Linked DNA regions of Homo sapiens: region 2 is linked to region 1. Evidence: promoter capture Hi-C in human tissues and cell types (Jung and others, 2019). All regions are on one chromosome and are shown on one strand. The core of a region is centred on a gene start or on the middle of the fragment in contact, and the rest is flanking DNA. Distances in the headings are between cores, read along the strand shown. Region 1 holds the start of IL1A (interleukin 1 alpha). Region 2 has its middle 19 kb from the start of AMANZI.

The links. Contacts are between HindIII fragments. The study calls those that stand out against the background at their distance.
Region 2: a contact is called between a fragment that was not itself captured here and the fragment with the promoter of IL1A in region 1, in 3 of the 25 tissues and cell types used here (H1 embryonic stem cells, liver and spleen).

What each region holds. Positions count from the first base shown.
Region 1 is chr2:112,780,057-112,787,593 of GRCh38, reverse strand. IL1A (interleukin 1 alpha) reads left to right here and starts at 3,101. Exons shown (of 7, transcript NM_000575.5): 1 at 3,101-3,151; 2 at 3,816-3,870; 3 at 4,830-4,878; 4 at 5,768-5,990. The coding sequence starts at 3,824. The HindIII fragment of the contact is 8,255 bases long and covers 1,506-7,537 here.
Region 2 is chr2:112,855,510-112,863,046 of GRCh38, reverse strand. No RefSeq gene overlaps it. Among named protein-coding and RNA genes, the nearest start is that of AMANZI, 19 kb to the right of the region's middle. The HindIII fragment of the contact is 6,957 bases long and covers 1,431-7,537 here.

The DNA of each region.
Region 1 (7,537 bases), core at 1,852-4,351:
AAGTGATTCTGTTAGACCCAACCACATGCAACAATTTTAAAGTTGCTTCCAAATATATTTACAAATATTTCCTGTCTTCAAGGAACAATGGCAAGACCATGACTCAGGTTCACATCCGGATTCCACCACTAACCATGTACCCAATTACTTCAGTCACCTTCATTCAGGTCTTACATATCACAGAATAAAATCAGATTTCATCAGAGGAGGTGAAGACAGGGAGAGGAGATATTTCAATCCCTTCTCCGCAACCCCCGTTTTTTTTTTTTTTTTAACAAGGATCCTAGAGTTACTGAATGATAGCACGTTTGAGGGGGAAAGACCCTAAGGATGATCTTTATAAGCCATCACTTGGTGTTGGTGGTGATAAGAGACTCGAGTATCTTTATGCAGTGGAAAGAGAAGATTGGACTCGGAATCAGAAGCTTGAGTTCAAGCACTGGTTTCATCAGTCTTGTGATCTTGGGTTGGTCACTTAACCTCTTCAAGGGTCCTCAGCTGTGAAAGAGGATAGTATCAGCTAATTCTTGTAGGTGCAGTGAGGAGGCAGTGAGATAGTGCAGGTAAACTATAAAACAATTGTCACATGAAACGCATCACAGTGATTCTTTGGACCCACAAGCTCCAATCTTATAAAACATATCCAGTCACCCACCAACATAGATCATCTCACCTTGCATATCTGATTTTGTGGATCATGGGGAAAAACTGCTGATTCCTAGCAAAACCCATGGCATAGGATAAGTGCACAATAATTTTTTTTTCCTAAATGATTTAGATGACAGTGACTCATTAAGGGTTTCCTGAGGCCTCCTCAGAGTCGAGAGGTGGGTGCCTGAAGCCACCCAAAGTCCCTGTCACAGGATGGCTCCCAACGCACACACCACAGGCCTGCCCAGTATGTTCCACTATCTACCCAGTAGAGCCCTGCCCAGTACGTTCCACTGTCCCTTCCCTAGAAGAGGTGACTGTTGTTCACAGTCCCAGAAAAGCGGGCTCCCCAAAACAATGCAAGGACCCACCTCTCTCTGAACCTCACCCACCCTAGTTTTCCTTTAAAAATCAATTTACAAGAAGATCATGTGAAGGAAAAGGTTGGGTGATATTCTAACCCAAGTTAGCTGTTTCTCAACCAAGTTCTCTTTGAAAAATTCAACAACCACCTTTGGGGAATTATTTACAACAGAGGAGTGAGGATGGGACCAGGATAGGTATTGCCTATGTTGGTGGAACCAGGGTTTTTTTCCTGGATTACCAAAGAGATGGTATGCATTGCTCCCAGAAGCTAAATATCTTCAGGCTTTCAATGGTGGCCTTCACCTGAAAATGTTATCCCTGTTGAAGCTTTCAAGCCAGTATTTTCATAAGAACTATATTTTCTTTGGTGAACTGAGGCATTATAATGATGACTATACAGGTTCTTGAGTGACTGAAGCCATCATTAGCATTGTCATTATTTTTGTTTAGTTGCATCTCCATAGCAGCTCACATTCACAATGTGCTTTGCAATTGTTCCTTAGCAATAGCCCTCACAAGATTCTCAGGAGGAGAGGGTTAATCAGGATTAACATTTCTGTGTTGCCTAAAGAGGAACCAAGGTAAGCAGAAATGTAGCCAGTTGGCTGGCATCACTGTTGCTTCAGGATTCATCCTTAGACACCCAAGCTTCTACCCTAGTCTGGTGCTACACTTACATTGCTTACATCCAAGTGTGGTTATTTCTGTGGCTCCTGTTATAACTATTATAGCACCAGGTCTATGACCAGGAGAATTAGACTGGCATTAAATCAGAATAAGAGATTTTGCACCTGCAATAGACCTTATGACACCTAACCAACCCCATTATTTACAATTAAACAGGAACAGAGGGAATACTTTATCCAACTCACACAAGCTGCTTTCCTCCCAGATCCATGCTTTTTTGCGTTTATTATTTTTTAGAGATGGGGGCTTCACTATGTTGCCCACACTGGACTAAAACTCTGGGCCTCAAGTGATTGTCCTGCCTCAGCCTCCTGAATAGCTGGGACTACAGGGGCATGCCATCACACCTAGTTCATTTCCTCTATTTAAAATATACATGGCTTAAACTCCAACTGGGAACCCAAAACATTCATTTGCTAAGAGTCTGGTGTTCTACCACCTGAACTAGGCTGGCCACAGGAATTATAAAAGCTGAGAAATTCTTTAATAATAGTAACCAGGCAACACCATTGAAGGCTCATATGTAAAAATCCATGCCTTCCTTTCTCCCAATCTCCATTCCCAAACTTAGCCACTGGCTTCTGGCTGAGGCCTTACGCATACCTCCCGGGGCTTGCACACACCTTCTTCTACAGAAGACACACCTTGGGCATATCCTACAGAAGACCAGGCTTCTCTCTGGTCCTTGGTAGAGGGCTACTTTACTGTAACAGGGCCAGGGTGGAGAGTTCTCTCCTGAAGCTCCATCCCCTCTATAGGAAATGTGTTGACAATATTCAGAAGAGTAAGAGGATCAAGACTTCTTTGTGCTCAAATACCACTGTTCTCTTCTCTACCCTGCCCTAACCAGGAGCTTGTCACCCCAAACTCTGAGGTGATTTATGCCTTAATCAAGCAAACTTCCCTCTTCAGAAAAGATGGCTCATTTTCCCTCAAAAGTTGCCAGGAGCTGCCAAGTATTCTGCCAATTCACCCTGGAGCACAATCAACAAATTCAGCCAGAACACAACTACAGCTACTATTAGAACTATTATTATTAATAAATTCCTCTCCAAATCTAGCCCCTTGACTTCGGATTTCACGATTTCTCCCTTCCTCCTAGAAACTTGATAAGTTTCCCGCGCTTCCCTTTTTCTAAGACTACATGTTTGTCATCTTATAAAGCAAAGGGGTGAATAAATGAACCAAATCAATAACTTCTGGAATATCTGCAAACAACAATAATATCAGCTATGCCATCTTTCACTATTTTAGCCAGTATCGAGTTGAATGAACATAGAAAAATACAAAACTGAATTCTTCCCTGTAAATTCCCCGTTTTGACGACGCACTTGTAGCCACGTAGCCACGCCTACTTAAGACAATTACAAAAGGCGAAGAAGACTGACTCAGGCTTAAGCTGCCAGCCAGAGAGGGAGTCATTTCATTGGCGTTTGAGTCAGCAAAGGTATTGTCCTCACATCTCTGGCTATTAAAGTATTTTCTGTTGTTGTTTTTCTCTTTGGCTGTTTTCTCTCACATTGCCTTCTCTAAAGCTACAGCCTCTCCTTTCTTTTCTTGTCCCTCCCTGGTTTGGTATGTGACCTAGAATTACAGTCAGATTTCAGAAAATGATTCTCTCATTTTGCTGATAAGGACTGATTCGTTATACTGAGGGACAGCAGAACTAGTTTCCTATGAGGGCATGGGTGAATACAACTGAGGCTTCTCATGGGAGGGAATCTCTACTATCCAAAATTATTAGGAGAAAATTGAAAATTTCCAACTCTGTCTCTCTCTTACCTCTGTGTAAGGCAAATACCTTATTCTTGTGGTGTTTTTGTAACCTCTTCAAACTTTCATTGATTGAATGCCTGTTCTGGCAATACATTAGGTTGGGCACATAAGGAATACCAACATAAATAAAACATTCTAAAAGAAGTTTACGATCTAATAAAGGAGACAGGTACATAGCAAACTAATTCAAAGGAGCTAGAAGATGGAGAAAATGCTGAATGTGGACTAAGTCATTCAACAAAGTTTTCAGGAAGCACAAAGAGGAGGGGCTCCCCTCACAGATATCTGGATTAGAGGCTGGCTGAGCTGATGGTGGCTGGTGTTCTCTGTTGCAGAAGTCAAGATGGCCAAAGTTCCAGACATGTTTGAAGACCTGAAGAACTGTTACAGGTAAGGAATAAGATTTATCTCTTGTGATTTAATGAGGGTTTCAAGGCTCACCAGAATCCAGCTAGGCATAACAGTGGCCAGCATGGGGGCAGGCCGGCAGAGGTTGTAGAGATGTGTACTAGTCCTGAAGTCAGAGCAGGTTCAGAGAAGACCCAGAAAAACTAAGCATTCAGCATGTTAAACTGAGATTACATTGGCAGGGAGACCGCCATTTTAGAAAAATTATTTTTGAGGTCTGCTGAGCCCTACATGAATATCAGCATCAACTTAGACACAGCCTCTGTTGAGATCACATGCCCTGATATAAGAATGGGTTTTACTGGTCCATTCTCAGGAAAACTTGATCTCATTCAGGAACAGGAAATGGCTCCACAGCAAGCTGGGCATGTGAACTCACATATGCAGGCAAATCTCACTCAGATGTAGAAGAAAGGTAAATGAACACAAAGATAAAATTACGGAACATATTAAACTAACATGATGTTTCCATTATCTGTAGTAAATACTAACACAAACTAGGCTGTCAAAATTTTGCCTGGATATTTTACTAAGTATAAATTATGAAATCTGTTTTAGTGAATACATGAAAGTAATGTGTAACATATAATCTATTTGGTTAAAATAAAAAGGAAGTGCTTCAAAACCTTTCTTTTCTCTAAAGGAGCTTAACATTCTTCCCTGAACTTCAATTAAAGCTCTTCAATTTGTTAGCCAAGTCCAATTTTTACAGATAAAGCACAGGTAAAGCTCAAAGCCTGTCTTGATGACTACTAATTCCAGATTAGTAAGATATGAATTACTCTACCTATGTGTATGTGTAGAAGTCCTTAAATTTCAAAGATGACAGTAATGGCCATGTGTATGTGTGTGACCCACAACTATCATGGTCATTAAAGTACATTGGCCAGAGACCACACTGAAATAACAACAATTACATTCTCATCATCTTATTTTGACAGTGAAAATGAAGAAGACAGTTCCTCCATTGATCATCTGTCTCTGAATCAGGTAAGCAAATGACTGTAATTCTCATGGGACTGCTATTCTTACACAGTGGTTTCTTCATCCAAAGAGAACAGCAATGACTTGAATCTTCAATACTTTTGTTTTACCCTCACTAGAGGTCCAGAGACCTGTCTTTCATTATAAGTGAGACCAGCTGCCTCTCTAAACTAATAGTTGATGTGCATTGGCTTCTCCCAGAACAGAGCAGAACCATCCCAAATCCCTGAGAACTGGAGTCTCCTGGGGCAGGCTTCATCAGGATGTTAGTTATGCCATCCTGAGAAAGGCCCCGCAGGCCGCTTCACCAGGTGTCTGTCTCCTAACGTGATGTGTTGTGGTTGTCTTCTCTGACACCAGCATCAGAGGTTAGAGAAAGTCTCCAAACATGAAGCTGAGAGAGAGGAAGCAAGCCAGTTGAAAGTGAGAAGTCTACAGCCACTCATCAATCTGTGTTATTGTGTTTGGAGACCACAAATAGACACTATAAGTACTGCCTAGTATGTCTTCAGTACTGGCTTTAAAAGCTGTCCCCAAAGGAGTATTTCTAAAATATTTTGAGCATTGTTAAGCAGATTTTTAACCTCCTGAGAGGGAACTAATTGGAAAGCTACCACTCACTACAATCATTGTTAACCTATTTAGTTACAACATCTCATTTTTGAGCATGCAAATAAATGAAAAAGTCTTCCTAAAAAAATCATCTTTTTATCCTGGAAGGAGGAAGGAAGGTGAGACAAAAGGGAGAGAGGGAGGGAAGCCTAATGAAACACCAGTTACCTAAGACCAGAATGGAGATCCTCCTCACTACCTCTGTTGAATACAGCACCTACTGAAAGAACTTTCATTCCCTGACCATGAACAGCCTCTCAGCTTCTGTTTTCCTTCCTCACAGAAATCCTTCTATCATGTAAGCTATGGCCCACTCCATGAAGGCTGCATGGATCAATCTGTGTCTCTGAGTATCTCTGAAACCTCTAAAACATCCAAGCTTACCTTCAAGGAGAGCATGGTGGTAGTAGCAACCAACGGGAAGGTTCTGAAGAAGAGACGGTTGAGTTTAAGCCAATCCATCACTGATGATGACCTGGAGGCCATCGCCAATGACTCAGAGGAAGGTAAGGGGTCAAGCACAATAATATCTTTCTTTTACAGTTTTAAGCAAGTAGGGACAGTAGAATTTAGGGGAAAATTAAACGTGGAGTCAGAATAACAAGAAGACAACCAAGCATTAGTCTGGTAACTATACAGAGGAAAATTAATTTTTATCCTTCTCCAGGAGGGAGAAATGAGCAGTGGCCTGAATCGAGAATACTTGCTCACAGCCATTATTTCTTAGCCATATTGTAAAGGTCGTGTGACTTTTAGCCTTTCAGGAGAAAGCAGTAATAAGACCACTTACGAGCTATGTTCCTCTCATACTAACTATGCCTCCTTGGTCATGTTACATAATCTTTTCGTGATTCAGTTTCCTCTACTGTAAAATGGAGATAATCAGAATCCCCCACTCATTGGACTGCTGTAAAGATTAAGAGTCTCAGGCTTTACAGACTGAGCTAGCTGGGCCCTCCTGACTGTTATAAAGATTAAATGAGTCAACATCCCCTAACTTCTGGACTAGAATAATGTCTGGTACAAAGTAAGCACCCAATAAATGTTAGCTATTACTATCATTATTATTATTATTTTATTTTATTTTTTTGAGATGGAGTCTGGCTCTGTCACCCAGGCTGGAGTGCAGTGGCGCAATCTCGGCTCACTGCAAGCTCTGCCTCCTGGGTTCATGCCATTCTCCTGCCTCAGCCTCCTGAGTAGCTGGGAATACAGGCACCCGCCACTGTTCCCGGCTAATTTTTTGTATTTTTAGTAGAGACGGAGTTTCACCGTGGTCTCCATCTCCTCGTGATCCACCCACCTTGGCCTCCCAAAGTGCCGGGATTACAGGCGTGAGCCACCGCGCCCGGCCTATGATTATTATTATTATTACTACTACTACTACCTATATGAATACTACCAGCAATACTAATTTATTAATGACTGGATTATGTCTAAACCTCACAAGAATCCTACCTTCTCATTTTACATAAAAGGAAACTAAGCTCATTGAGATAGGTAAACTGCCCAATGGCATACATCTGTAAGTGGGAGAGCCTCAAATCTAATTCAGTTCTACCTGAGTAAAAAAATCATGGTTTCTCCTCCATCCCTTTACTGTACAAGCCTCCACATGAACTATAAACCCAATATTCCTGTTTTTAAGATAATACCTAAGCAATAACGCATGTTCACCTAGAAGGTTTTAAAATGTAACAAAATATAAGAAAATAAAAATCACTCATATCGTCAGTGAGAGTTTACTACTGCCAGCACTATGGTATGTTTCCTTAAAATCTTTGCTATACACATACCTACATGTGAACAAATATGTCTAACATCAAGACCACACTATTTACAACTTTATATCCAGCTTTTCTTACTTAGCAATGTATTGAGGACATTTTAGAGTGCCCGTTTTTCACCATTATAAGCAATGCAACAATGAACATCTGTATAAATAAATATTCATTTCTCTCACCCTTTATTTCCTTAGAATATATTCCTAGAAGTAGAATTTCCCAGAGCCATGAGGATTTGTGACGCTATTGATATGTGCCACTTTGCACTC
Region 2 (7,537 bases), core at 3,660-6,159, 74 kb before region 1:
TTTTAGAAGAAAATGAGTCTCTGGTCCCAGGTTTCATCTGATTGCTCAAGGCTAGGATGGTTTATTCCTAGACAGGTAGGTTCTGAGTTATTAGGAAAGTTCATTTTTAGCAGGTTGTGAAGTTTCATGTCCTGTGAAGAGAAAATAGGGGGAGGAAGGGAGGAAAACAACAATAAACAAAAGAACAATCTGTAAAATTGATATAGGCCACATTCCTCTGAAGTCTATACATCAGTAGGCACATACGAAAGTGGCTTATGTATGTAAATAGGTTGCTGTTGTTTTCTTCTGAAGTTTAAGTTGTCTAGCTTCAGTTTGGAGGGCTTTACAAAAGCATAGCTTAGTTTTCAGTGACTCTCAATTAGGAAAACTTGGGGTGGAAAAGAAGAAAAAAAATTGAAAACATTATTTTAAAGACCTATAGCCAAGAAAAATTAGAATTCAGTCCAAACTGTAGAAAATAATAAAAATTGAAAAACATTAAGCAAGACTAGAATCTACCAACAAGTGTACTATAGTTTTATGAAACAATTTTTCTCTCTCCAGTTTCCCATTTTTACTAGACAAATCATGGTAGGACTGATTTTCTTTATTATACTTGAGCTGTTTATTTGTATACAGTGCAGCAAGAATAACTAGTTTTTGACGGACTTTTAAATTGGCTTTGATGTAACTTTGTTCCATAGAAGGAATCTCAAATAAGACTTTTGTAAAGCTGAGCCCAGCCATGGATTTGTACCATCAAAATACCTATGAGTTGGGTGAATTCCTCTCCTCTTGAGATTCCAAGATAAACTTTGGGCTCCTGGGCCTGTCAGAGTGACATTCTTTAATTACCACAGGTCAGGAACCCTGTACGGGGACTGGGTAGACAAGATATTAGGCCAGTTTTCCTAAGGGGCTTTTATTGGCTCCATAAGTCAAGTTTGATTCCTTAAAGTAAAGACAGCATTGCAGTCAAAGCCTTGGTAAAATAAACAGTTTGTCCAACTGTGTTCTGTTACAAATGAAAATAGATTCTTATTGTACTTATGTAAATATATTGCCATAAGTTAAGAATACTCAAAAATTGTTTCCAAATATATATAGAGAGAAACAAATATGCTCCAAATTGTGTTCACTGGAGTATACTTAATTGTTAAAAGCTGTCAATATCTCAACAGAAAAATTTCCTTGACTCTGAAAAACAAAACGAAGGATCAACATTTTAAGAAAAAAAGTCAAAAAGATTACTTCAGCATTCTTTTAGTTCCATCTATGAAGTTAATTCCTGTTTTGCTTGATATTCATGAATATTTCAGCACTCCATGAATACTGAAAGTTTTTCCTCTATTCTGATGTCACAGTCTCCAAAGCTATCTTAAGCCTGCATTCAAGAGCACCCGTTAGAGTTTTATAGCTGATTATAAAACCACCTTCTAAAGAGGACCAAAGCAAGACAATTGTCTGTGAATGGCAAAAAGTTTTAGGGCAACCATAGTCAAAGACACACTTGATGAGGAAATTTGTTACCTCCATGGCACACAATAATTTACCATAACAATTATAATTATTACTGATAATGTACACCAAGTCATATCAGAATTATAGGAGTTTCCTATAATTTTGGAACACATACCAATAACATATTTATACAAATACAGCCCAAACAAAACCAAACACTATTTCATATTTGACAATGCTTCCTGTAAAATTTTTATACCAAATAAGCCACATTATGTTACTTTTTTTTTTTTTTGGACTTTAGGGAACCTAGTATCTTAAAGGATTCATTAGGTCATAAAAAGACATAATTTGTAGTTTGATTTTGGAAAGTTTGTCAAATTTGAAAGGTTTAAAACACTTGATGAAAGGTCATTGTAAAATAAGTCATTCATTTGACCAAAGTGATAACTCAAGGATTAAAAAAAAAAAAAAAAAAGGTGAAAGCCTTCATTCTTTGAGAGACGAGACTTAATTTTCCAAACAATAAGCCCTAATAAAAACAGCATGAAGCCAATTAAATTTGTTTTCCAAAATTGTATTAACAATCTATGAAATTTTTATCTTGACCATAGCTATAACTTCCAGAAGCCTTTTATAACCTCTATAACCTTTATTAAGGAGTAGGTTAATGCTTCAAGAAAACCTTGTTAATCTGACACAGGACCCATATGCTGATCTTGCATCAGTGTGGCTTGGACATCAATGATTATGATTAATTTATAGAGAAATTGAACTTATTTTATCTCTCAAAATTGGCCCTTACAATCTCACACACCCACCTCTTCCACTATAGTTCCTGGGCCTTGAGTTGAATAGCTTTAATTTCTGGCTCTGTGTTTCAAGAATGCAGTTTATTTTGATTGGCATTTTCTACCAGTCCTGAAGATGAGCCTTTAATTGCTGTCAGTATTTAAGATTTAGCAGGACTTGTCCTTTTAAGACCCAGGAGTCAAGCCCTATAACTCAATGTCACAAGGACTTTAAAAGCACATACATAAAGATATATGGATGTAATAATCATAATTTTTAAAAAATTGTATTAATCTCAGTGTTTTCTAAGCAAACCAAAACTTAATAATAATGGCATAGAAATTATTTCAATAAAACATAAAATCTGTTAAGCCAGTTACCAAAAGGCAAAAGAAAAGACCTTCTGCAATGCACAGAATATTATGTTGGAAGAAAACATTTCCTTTAGACCTTTAAGAAAACATTGTTAGCATCAGGACACAACAAACAGAATCTGAGGGTAAAAAACGTATATGAGCTGAAGGGAGTTGAAGGAGGGCATTACTATTTCCCACCCTTTTAAAGGGGAGAGAAAACCTAAAACAGCAAGATGCAATAAAAGCTGAACTTTGGGTTAAAAAAAAATTCTTAAGTCTCTTATAATTTATTAAGAGTGAATCAACCCCGTAAGAAAATTTCATTGTTCTAACCAATTTTTTAATATATAAGTAGTTTTTTAACATCAACCCAATCTCTAGAAAGACCATTATAATTTCCCTTTAATTATAGACAACTTTATCATATAAAAGTTTTTTTAAATAAATCCTCTTATTGTGACTTACACAGACTATTCATGACATGCTTGGACTTTCTGGTTTGTCGTGAACATCCTTTTCTTTCTTTCTTTCTTTTTTAAATTTTACTTTACGTTCTGGGATACATGTGAAGAACATGGAGGTTTATTACGTAGGTGTACATGTGCCATGGTGGTTTGCTGCACCCATTAACCCGTCATCTATATTAGGTATTTTTCCTAATGTTATCCCTCCCCTTGCCCCCCACCTCCTGACAGGCCCTGGTGTGTGACATTCCCCTCCCTGTGTCCATGTGTTCTCATTGTTCAACTCCCACTTATGAGTGAGAACATGCAGTGTTTGGTTTTCTGTTCCTGTGTTAGTTTGCTGAGAATGATGGCTTCCAGCTTCATCCATGTCCCTGCAAAAGACATGAACTCATTCTTTTTTATGGCTGCATAGTATTCCATGGTGTATACGTGCCACATTTTTTTACCCAGTCTATCATTGGTGGGCATTAGGGTTGGTTCCAAGTCTTTGCTATTGTGAATAGTGCTGCAATAAACATACATGTGCATGTGTCTTTACAATAGAATGATTTCTAATCCTTTAGGTATATACCCAGTAATGGGATTGCTGGGTCAAATGGTATTTCTGGTTCCAGATCCTTGAGGAATTGCCACACTGTCTTCCACAATGGTTGAACTAACTGACACTCCCACCAACAGTGTAAAAGCATTCCTATTTCTCCACATCCTCTCCAGCATCTGTTGTTTCCTGACTTTTTAATAATCGCCATTCTAACTGGCATGAGATGGTATCTCATTGTGGTTTCAATTTGCATTTCTCTAATGACCAGTGATGATGAGCTTTTTTTCATGTTTGTTGGCCACATAAATGTCTTCTTCTGAGATGTGTCTGTTCATATCTTTTGCCCACTTTTTGATGGGTTTTTTTTTCTTGCAAATTTGTTTAAATTCCTTGTAGATTCTGGATATTAGCCCTTTGTCAGATGGATAGATTGAAAAAATTTTCTCCTATTCTGTAGGTTGCCTGTTCACTCTGACAATAGTTTCTTTTGCTGTGCAGAAGCTCTTCAGTTTAATTAGATCCCATTTGTCAATTGGCTTTTGTTGCAATTGCTTTTGGTGTTCTAATCATGAAGTCTTTGCTCATGCCTATGTCCTGAATGGTATTGCCTAGGTTTTCTTCTATGGTTTTTATGGTTTTAGGTCTTATGTTTAAATCCTTCTTTTTTTTTTTTTTTTTTTTTGAGATGGAGTCTTACTCTGTTGCCCAGGCTGGAGTGCAGTGGCGTGATCTCCACTCCCTGCAAGCTCCACCTCCTGGTTTCACATCATTCTCCTGCCTCAGCCTCCCAAGTAGCTGGGACTACAGGCGCCCACCACCATGCCCAGCTAATTTTTTGTATTTTTTAGTAGAGACAGGGTTTCACTGTGTTAGTCAGGATGGTCTCCATCTCCTGACCTCATGATCCACCCATCTCGGCCTCCCAAAGTGCTGGGATTACAGGCGTGAGCCACCATGCCCAGCCATGTTTAAATCTTTAATCCATCTTGAGTTGATTTTTGTATAAGTTGTAAGGAAGGGGTCCAGTTTCAGTTTTCAGCATATGGCTAACCAGTTTTCCCAACATCATTTATTAAATAGGGAATTATTTTCCCCATTGCTTATTTTTGTTAGGTTTGTCAAAGATCAGATGGTTGTAGATGTGTGGTGTTATATCTGAGGCCTCTGTTCTGTTCTTTTGGTCTATATATCTGTTTTGGTACCAGTACCATGCTGTTTTGGTTACTGCAGCCTTGTAGTATAGTTTGAAGTCAGGTAGCACAATGCCTCCAGCTTTGTTCTTTTTGCTTAGGATTGTCTTGGCTATTAGTTTTTTCTAATTCTGTGAAGAAAGTCAATGGTAGCTTGATGGGGATAGCATTGAATCTATAAATTACTTGGGCAGTATGGCCATTTTCACGATATTGATTCTTCCTATCCATAAGCATGGAATGTTTTTCCATTTGTTTGTTTCCTCTCTTATTTCCTTGAGCAGTGGTTTGCAGTTCACCCTGAAAAGGTCTTTCATGTCCATTGTAAGTTGTATTCCCAGGTATTTTATTCTCTTTGTAGCAATTGTGAATGGGAGTTCACTCATGATTTGGCTCTCTGTTAGTCTATTATTGGTGTATAGGAATGCCTGTGATTTTTGCACATTGATTTTGTATCCTGAGACTTTGCTGAAGTTGCTTATCAGCTTAAGGAGTTTTGGGGCTGAAATGATGGGGTTTTCTAAATATGCAATCATGCATCTGCAAACGGAGAAAATTTGACTTCCTCTCTTCCTATTTGAATACCCTTTATTTCTTTCTCTTGCTTGATTGCCCTGGCCAGAACTTCCGATACTATGTTGAATAGGAGTGGTGAGAGAGGACATCCTTGTCTTGTGCCAGTTCTCAAAGGGAATGTTTCCAGCTTTTGCCCATTCAGTATGATATTGGCTGTGGGTTTGTCATAAATAGCTTTGAACATCCCTTTCTTAGCCAGTCACTTTATTCTAGCACAAAATTTTAGGTAAGATTCTTTCTTACCTAAAATTATTTCTCTTTAAGCTTTCTTACCAAAAAATACCACTTTATTTCTATAATTTTCTTTACATTTCCCTTATTTCCTTGTTCCTTTTACCTTGTTTTATACATAACTTTTCAATAAGCTTTGAATTAGACAAAAATTATTCACCTTTTTAAAAGGACACTTTTTTTTTTAGAAAGAATGGTTTCCTACAATATGTTTTTCTTGGAAAATACCCAAATAATGAAATACTTATTATTTAATTTAACTTTAGATTCTAAATTATGGTGAGTTTGTCTACAAATATTTATCCCATTACATTTACCTAATTATTTTATTTTAACTGTTTATCTAGATTATTTATGAAAACTGTGATAGCCATCATTTAAAGTTATGAAACTGCCATCACTGAGACAGTGAAAAAGATCTGACCTAGCTGACTCCATTTTGCTTCTAACGTCCAAGCTGTCCTTGTTCATTCCTGGGCATAGGCTGAATTAACTTTGGGAGGAACTTAGTTTATAGTTTAGCTTTGAAACAAAAGATGATAACAGTCATTTTCCAAAACAAACCTCCTTCCTGCCTGTGGACTAGACTGCCTAAAGCCACAAAGTTAGAAGTTATGGTAATTTTACTAAATAATGCAAGATGTAGCTATTTTCATTAAACCAATAGTAATGTCTTTTTAATCAAAGATTGAAAAAGCAAAGATTATTCTGTTTTGGCTGGGTTTATAGTTTTGTAACCCCTATGCCAAATTTTGACACCTTATAGTATTTGACAGGGATAAGTATAAAATTGCTTGATTGATAAATCCAAACAAAAATGTATGCTGGGAATGATTTTGTTTCAGGGCAGTCATTACTTAATTTTTAAAACTCTTATTTAAATTTGCAATGTTTTAAATGAACATCACTTAAAGTAGTAATCAACAGAGGTTAGGAGAACATAACAATACTCTTTCTCTTAGAAAATACAACAAAAATATAATTTTTTACAGTTTTGCTCCCAAACTTTTCTCTGTAATAACATGCCTTACTCACCTTTACAATAGGTTTGTTGTGAGAATCTTGTAATGTAAACCCTGGGTGTTCTGTGAAGCATTTTTAAACTTCTAGTTTACACTGACTCTTATTCAAGTGTTTTTAAAAATATATTTAAAAAACTGGCCAGGTGCAGTGGCTCACACCTGTAATCCCAGCACTTTGGGAGGCCAAGGCGGGCAGATCACAAGGTCAGGAGTTTGAGACCAGCCTAGCCAACATAGTAAAACCTCGTGTCTACTAAAAATACAAAAATTAGCTGGGCGTGGTGGCGGGCGCCTGTAGTCCCAGCTACTCAGGAGGCTGAGGCAGAAGAATCGCTTGAACCCGGGAGGCAGAGGTTGTGGTGAACCAAGTTTGCGCCACTGCACTCCAGCCTGGACGACAGAGCAAGACTCCATCTCAAAAAAAATATATATATATATATATATTTTAAAAACTGTTCTTCTCTTTCCAATATTTTTATAATTTCCAAGAGATTTTAAGGATCTTGAGAGAACATTTATTACAGAAATATCTACTACTATTACTAGTCAAGAAAGCAAACTTAGGTAAAGGAAAGACTTAATATTTTGTCCTATATACATCTTAATCATCCTAATGGTAAAAACTCACATGAAACTTCAAGATACAAGGTGATATGAGAACCTCAACATGGAAAGCTGTCACTATAACTACAACAGTGTACAAACATGCTTCTACTTTTACCTACATAAGCTGACAGATGTTTAAAATACTAGCTTAACAAAGATCTTTTAGTAAAGTGACTTATGCAAGCTTAAATTAGCAAGGATTAAGGATAAACCCTTACTACTTAATTGGAAGATCTGTGACATATTGTATATTTCATTTTACAAAATCAGAAATACTTATTTTGAAACAAGACAAGACATGGTCTACCTGTCA